2 separate regions of the Homo sapiens genome follow, and region 1 is linked to region 2. Evidence: promoter capture Hi-C in human tissues and cell types (Jung and others, 2019). All regions are on one chromosome and are shown on one strand. Each heading gives the region's core, a stretch centred on a gene start or on the middle of the fragment in contact. The rest is flanking DNA. Distances are from core to core; before and after follow the strand shown. Region 1 has its middle 20 kb from the start of ZFAND6. Region 2 holds the start of BCL2A1 (BCL2 related protein A1).

What was found. The method cuts DNA at HindIII sites, captures the fragments that hold promoters and counts their contacts. A contact is called where the count stands out against the background at its distance.
Region 1: a fragment that was not itself captured here is called in contact with the fragment with the promoter of BCL2A1 in region 2 in 4 of the 25 tissues and cell types used here (dorsolateral prefrontal cortex, liver, lymphoblastoid cells and 1 more).

Annotation. Positions count from the first base shown.
Region 1 is chr15:80,037,228-80,041,175 of GRCh38, forward strand. No RefSeq gene overlaps it. Among named protein-coding and RNA genes, the nearest start is that of ZFAND6, 20 kb to the right of the region's middle. RefSeq lists an enhancer at 2,482-2,981. The HindIII fragment of the contact is 5,767 bases long and covers 1-3,948 here.
Region 2 is chr15:79,969,147-79,973,049 of GRCh38, forward strand. BCL2A1 (BCL2 related protein A1) reads right to left here and starts at 2,050. Exons shown (of 2, transcript NM_004049.4): 1 at 1,554-2,050. The coding sequence starts at 1,973. RefSeq lists an enhancer at 1,474-2,673. The HindIII fragment of the contact is 21,858 bases long and covers 1-3,903 here.

The DNA of each region.
Region 1 (3,948 bases), core at 547-3,046, 68 kb after region 2:
AGGAGTTTGAGACCAGCCTGGGCAACACGGTGAAAACCCGTCTCTACTAAAATACAAAAAAAAAAATTAGCTGGATGTGGCAGCGTGCACCTGTAGTCCCAGCTACTCGGGTGGCTGAGGCAGTAGAACTGCTTGAACCCAGGAGGCAGAGGTTGCAGTGAGCCGAGATCGCGCCACTGCACTCCAGCCTGGGCAACAGAGCGAGACTCTGTCTCCAAAAAAAAAAAAAAGAAAATTAAAGCTTCTTTTAGGCCTCCCGTCATTGCAGCAACTGCACTGTCAAAGGTACAGCATCATCATCTGACCCAACAACCTCCAGGTAAGATATAGCAAGGATCCTCAGCCTGGGACTTGGCTCCATCCAATGCTTTGGAAGGGGAATCTGGCTTGACATTACAGGTCTCCTGCAGGCTCCCTCATCACTCTCCGATGATGGGTCTCCTTCCTCAAAGCTCCAGGTCATTGCTGACATTGGTTGACCCTGCTGCCTAGAGCAAACTATGGCCCATGGGCCAAACCAACCATTTTGTAAATAATGTTTTACAATAATGTATCTACAAAATAGCACCTATTTTGTAAATCACGTTTCAATAGAATACAGTCATGCTCATTTATTTATATCAGACCTCCCTCCCCCCAGTTACATTTTGGGTTGTGACAACTGAGGAGTGCTACTGGTATCAACTGGGTAGAGACTAGGATGCTGCTAAATATCCTACAGTTCACAGGACAGCCTTCATAACAAACAATGATCCAGCCTCAAATGTCAGCAGGCCAAGGTGGACAATACCTTGTGTATTGTTTATGGCTGCTTCTGAGCTAAAATGGGAGAGTCGAGTAGATGTGACAGAGATCACATGACCTGCAGAGCCTAAAACATGTTCTATTTGGATTTTGTACTAGTCAGGGTTTTCCATAGAAACAGAACCAATAGGATAGAGAGAAAGGAAGAAAAAAAGAGAGAGAGATTTAAGGAACTGGCTCATGTGATTATGGAGGCTGGCAAGTCCAAAGTCTGCAGGGTGGACTGGCAGGCTGAAGACCTGGGAAGAGCCAAGGTTGCAGTTTGAGTCTGAAGGCTGTCTGCTGCAGGATGCCTTCTTCCTCAGGGGAGGTCAGTCTTTGTACCATTCAGTCCTTTGACTGATTGGATGAGGCCTACCAACATTGTGGAGGGCAACCAACTTTACTCAAAATCCACTGATTTCAATGTTAATCTCATCCAAATGTACTCTCACAGAAACATCCAGAATAATGTCTGACCAAATATCTGGGTACTGTGGTCCAGCCAAATTGACACATAAAATTAACCATCAAAGCCAGGCGCCGTGGCTCACACCTGTAATCCCAGCACTTTGGGAGGCCAAGGTGGATGGACTGCGAGGTCAGGAGTTCAAGACCAGCCTGGCCAATATGGTGAAACCCTGTCTCTACTAAAAATACAAAAATTAGCTGGGCGTGATGGTGCGCGCCTGTAATCCCAGCTACTTGGGAGGCTGAGGCAGAAGAATCACTTGAATCCAGAAGGTGGAGGTTGCGGTGAGCTGAGATTGCATCACTGCACTCCAGCCGCGACAGAGCAAGACTCTGTCTCAAAAAAAAAAAAAAAAAAAATTAACCATCAAAGGCTTTTACAGAAAAAGTTTGTAGAACCCTCGGAGTCCCACCTCACCAGAGCTGAAGACTTGTTGGATTAACCTCATGAGAGGATTTTAGGTGGGCGTGACTTTGGATGTCAAGGAGAATGGAGAGTAAGCTGTGATCAGAACGCTGTGGTCATGCCTCCATGGCTCTAGCTGACTCCCCCAAGGGCAAAGTCCACCCTGACCCTCCCCTATGGACACAGTCCTTAGTTTACAATGTAATTTCACATTTTTTTTTTATTTGAAACGACCCTTTAAGGTAGAGTCCGGGGAGATGATACTGTTTCACTGATAAGCAAACTGAGGCCCAGAGAGGTGAGGTAATACCACACAGGGAGTTCGGGTGAGAATGGTGATCTCCTGGTTCCCAGTTTGGTGTTCTTGGGAATCACAATTCACTCTAGGGTGACCAACTGTTCTGTGTTGCTGTTGTTGTTGTTGTTGTTGTTTGAGATGGAGTCTTGCTTTGTCACCCAGGCTGTAGTGCAGTGGCACGATCTTGGCTCACTGAAACCTCCGCCTCCTGGGTTCAAGAGATTCTCCTGCCTCAGCTTCCCGAGTAGCTGGGACGACAGGCATTTACTACCACGCCCGGCTAATTTTTGTATTTTTAATAGAGACGGGGTTTCACCATGTTGGCCAGGCCAGTCTCGAACTCCCCACCTCCCGACCTCAGGTGATCCACCCACCTTGACCTCCCAAAGTACTGGGATTGCAGGGGTGAGCCACCGTGCCTGGTCCTGTTCTGGTTTTTATAGGCCCAAGAGATTTCCTGGAATGCAGGATTTTAGGTGCTAAAACTGGGGAAATCTGAGGCAAACTGGGACAAACTGATCACCCCACTTTGCCACCTCATGGATGTCTGACCTCAGTTACCCTAGCACTAAGTAGAATTAGCCAGCCAGGAGCTCAAGGCCCTGGGGAGACCCCTCAGTTAGGTGTGATGTGAGCAGACTGCCAGCACGGGCACCAACCGGTGTGTGTCCCTTTTCTCCAAACTCGAGAACAGAAATGTGATGGCAGCTTGAAGGGGGCTGGAAGGAGCTCTAGAACCCAGAGGTGAGACCTGCCTCAGCCTGCACCCCCTTTAGCAGCCAATGCCCCTGCTTGCCCCTAAGTTTCTCCATCTCTAAAATGATGATCTTTGGGTGCACCTAATAAATATTTACATTTTTACATTATACTTTCTTCTAGCACCGGAACTAATATTCATTCATTATCATAGACTTGGGGGGAATAAAAAGAGGAAAAAAAAAAGTTTTAACATCTAAATTTCCACTAATTCTAGTTTTTCCTAGATTTTTTTTCCATGTACAAAATTTATGCTTACTTTCACTCACTAGTGATTATACTATACAATTTTATTAGGTTTTTCCTTTTTTTATAACCTTTTCGTTTTTAAAAAAATTCTTACTAGATTATAAAATTGGTGAAAATATGAAAAACACATGAATAAAAAAGCCAATAGTAATCATCACCTATAATGCCACATATGTAAATATATATATACATATATAAATATATACACGTGTATATATAAATATAAACATCTATTTTCCTAGGCATATATGTGTTTACATTTATACGTGTATGTGTGTATATATTTAAATATGTATATATATTTACAAATAGGAGATAGTTATAGATATTTTAAAATACACATATATATACACAATACATGTGTTTATATAAACACATACTTTATGTATCTGTTTATAATTTATTTTTATTATAAAATTAATATATTTTCATTAGAAAAAATTCAAACACTCATAAATAAGCTTTCTCTTAGCCTCAAAACCATCCCTCAGAGATAATAACCCCTATTTTCAATTTGGTATCTATCTTTACAGGCATTTATTTCATTTGTAGGTATACATGTGTCTACATTTTTAACACAGATAGGATCTTAACATAGTACTGTTCTGTGACTTGCCTTTTCACTTAAAATATTATTGGCATATTCATAGAATGTTCTCTCCTGCTTTATTCACTTAACTTTCAAAGATAACTTCTAGACTTTTTATAAACTGAAGTATTTTACTGAATGGCTATAGTTGTTAAACCTCACTTTGGCACTTCTTTGTTATTTCTGATTTTAACTTATTTTTTAAATTACACAAGTAGTATGTAGATACATTCACATTAAAAAAAATTCAAACTATAAGGAAGAGGCCAGGCGCAGTGGCTCACACCTGTAATCCCAGCACTTTGGGAGGCTTAGGTGCCTCGATCACCTGAGCCCAGGAGTTTGAGACCAGTCTGGGCAACATGGCGAAACTCCATCTCTACTAAAAATACAAAA
Region 2 (3,903 bases), core at 800-3,299:
AAACAAGATAAACTCTATATTTTTAGCCCAACAAATTAAGAAAATTATGATGAATTGCAGCAACCTACTGTTAGTCAGCTGGGGTAGGAGAATCCCGGGGCATATCCTAACGAGCTGCTGATGGGAGTGTAACTTGGTAGAGCCACTTTGGAGGGCAAGGACCTAACAAATTAAAAAATGTATGTACACCATGACCCAGCATCTACAACCCAACATCCACCCTAGAAAACTACACACACGCACAAGGGAAGATTTACGTAAAATGATATTCAATGAAGCATTGTGTGTGACAGCAAACTCGAAATAACCTAAACAGCTATCAGCTAGAAATGGCCAGGTACTCTACAGCACTTACATATAACAGAATATACACAGCACTCTTAATAATACTATTTTAAATAATTCTGGGTAAAAAAATAAGTGGCAGCATTAGTACCATGTACTATTTTTACATATACACATGTAAAAATATGTATGCAAAATTTATATGTATACATAAAAAATCTATGTGTATATGTAAAAAAGGTATGTGTTATATGGTATAACATATATGTTATGTAAAACATATACATAAGCATACATATACATTTTATATAAAACTTTTTTTACAAAAAATGTTTTACAAAGAAGTATTGTTTATTTTCTATGGATAGATTCAGTAGGCATGTTTTGCATGCAAAATAATTGATAACAGTGGTTACCTCTTGGGAGAGGTGAAGGCCGTTGGAGAGAGGATCAATGAACACTTAAGTGCTTTAAAAAAATAATTATTAAGTATATTGGAATATAAAGGAAACCATATACATCCAGCTGTGTCAGGCTTTTTACCAACATGAGTTTCAACACAGGCCTCTACATAGTCTTGGCTTTTTTAGGCACTGATAATAAAGTAAATTTTTATTTGAAAATTCTTGAATAAAGGTTCTTGCTGGTCATACAGTATATTATGTTTTAATCAACAAACTTTAACAGCCCGGAATTTATTATTAGTAATAATGTGTTATATATTATATGTAATGTAATTTGCTATATATTAATATATGTTACTATTTATTATGTATTAGTAAACTGAAAAACACCAATTTGTAAGCGATGAACTTACAAAAATTTACACCTGTCTTTTGCAACCCATAAATACCTAAAAATAACAGCATCTGATAGCAACTTTCTGTGCTGATTGTAGAAATTTCTGTACTGTCTGTACTGTCATGACAACCCTAGCAAAAGCTAAGTACTAGATTAGAGTGTGTGCACAGCTGATTGTGAAGCTGCATGAGAGAGGTGCTTTATTAATCCCCAAAGCTCACTACTGTAATTTATACTGTTAAGAATAAAAACTGAAAACATAAGTGCTTTCCAACTATAAAGTTCAAGTTCAAGGATTCATTGGAAATAAGCCAGAAAGTATATTTTTATTTTAAAAATTAAAACAAACCACCCAAGGAAAATAGTATTCTTAGGTAAAGTGTTTTGTTGTTGTTTTAACTAGCAAGGAAATTCTCAATTTCTATTTCACAGGAAAGAACAATGAAGAATTTTTCCATCACACATACCCAGCCTCCGTTTTGCCTTATCCATTCTCCTGTGTTATTCATTATGAACTCCGCAACAAAATATGAAATCTCCTTATAGGTATCCACATCCGGGGCAATTTGCTGTCGTAGAAGTTTCTTGATGAGAATACCTTCAAATGCAAATATGGTTACAATTCTTCCCCAGTTAATGATGCCGTCTTCAAACTCCTTTTCCATCACTTGGTTGAATAGTGTTCTGGCAGTGTCTACGGACACAACATTAACATTGTCCAAGCATGACTTCAGATTCTTTTCCACTTCTTTTTGGACTGAGAACGCAACATTTTGTAGCACTCTGGACGTTTTGCTTGGACCTGATCCAGGTTGTGGTATCTGTAGGACGCACTGCAGATAGTCCTGAGCCAGCCTGTAAATATATCCAAATTCACAGTCTGTCATCTTCTGCCTGGTGGAGAGCAAAGTCTTGAGCTGGCTCACCTTGAAGCTGTTGAGGCAATGTGCTGAGAATGCTCACTGAGCTTGACTGAGTTATGACACATGATGATACATGGAGGCTGGTGGAATTTCTGTTTGCATCACTTTATAATATCCTTCCTCCTAGTCACTTTCGTGCGTAGGCTGTGTTTCATGTCATGTATGAAAGAGAAAGTTTAAAATGTGAAAGAGGAAAATGTTTCAGAGAAGCCACTTCCTCATCCTGTGATTAATTCAGCTTTGCAAGTCTTAAATGCAGGATGTGGAGAAATTAGAATCCTTGTAGATTGCTGGTGGGAATGTGAAATGGTACAACCCCTGTGAAAATGTTGGCAGTTTCTCAAAAAGTTAAATACAGAATTGTCAAAAGACCCAGCAATTCCATTCATAGGTATACACCCAACAGATACTCAAATACTTACATACGAATGTACATGGCAGCACTATTCACAATAGCCAAGATGTGGACACAACTCAAATGTTCATCAACAGACGAAAGGATAAATAAATTATGGAACATTATTCATCCCAAAAAAGGAATGAAGAACTGATACATGCTTCAACAGGAATGAACCTCAAAAACATTAGGCTAATAGAAAGAAGCCAAACAGAAAAGGTCATACATTATGTGATTCTATTTCTATGAAATATCCAGACAGTTAAATCCATAGGATAGAAAGCAAATTGGTGGTTGACAGGGGCTGAGAAGAGGAAGGAGTAACTGCTTAATGGGTAGAAGGTTTTCTTTTGTGTGATGAAAATGTTTTACAAGGCCGGCCGCGTTGGCTCACGCCTGTAATCCTAGCACTTTGGGAGGACAAGGCGGGCGGATTGCCTGAGCTCAGGAGTTTGAGACCAGCCTGGGCAATATGGTAAATCCCCGTCTGTACTAAAATACAAAAAATTAGCCAGGCGGGTGGCGTGTGCCTGTAATCCCAGCTACTCGGGAGGCTGAGGCAGGAGAATTGCTTGAACCCGGGAGACAGAAGTTGCAGTGAGCCAAGATCACGCCACTGCACTCCAGTCTGGGCAACAGAGCGAGACTCTGTCTCCAAAAAAAAAAAGAAAAGAAAATGTTTTGCAGCTAGATAGAGGTGGAAGTTGCACAACACTGCGAAGGTACTAAATGCCACTGAATTGTTCACTTTAAAATGGTTCTGTGAATTTCAAATTTAAGAAAAGTCTTAAACGCCATCCACGGGGTAAACCGGAGTAACGACAATTTGGAATGGAGACTACAAAACAGCCTGGGTGGCAGAGAACAGGGCCTCTCGAGGTGACTCTGGCAGTACCGCCCTTGATCATTTGTAATTGAGTAAGGATGATACCGAGAGGGAAGAAAAAAATACCCTCTTTGGGCCAGGCACGGTGGCTCACCCCTGTAATCCCAGCACTTTGGGAGGCTGAGGCGAGCGGATCACGAGATCAGAAGATCGAGACCATCCTGGCTAACACAGTGAAACCCCATCTCTACCAAAAATACAAAAAATTAGCCAGGCATGGTGGCGGGCACCTGTAGTCCCAGCTACTTGGGAGGCTGAGGCAGGAGAATCCTTTGAACCCAGGAGGCGGAGCTTGCAGTGAGCTGAGATTGTGCCACTGCACTCCAGCCTGGGCGACAGAGCGAGACTCCATCTCAAAAAAAAAAAAAAGAAAAAGAAAAAGAAAATACCTTCTTTGGTCTTCACCTTCCACCTACTCTAGAATTTCTGATAGAAAACAAAATTCTGCTTTAAGCCTGACTTAATTCACATTTTTAACTCAGGTAAACTATCCGATGTGTGGATTAGAAATTGCAGGACCAGAAAGAGCACTGGACTTACAGTCAGAGGGCCTGGACTCAGTCCCAGCCAAATCTCTCTTTCTTTACTCAGTATGTACCTTGGGTCTGTGC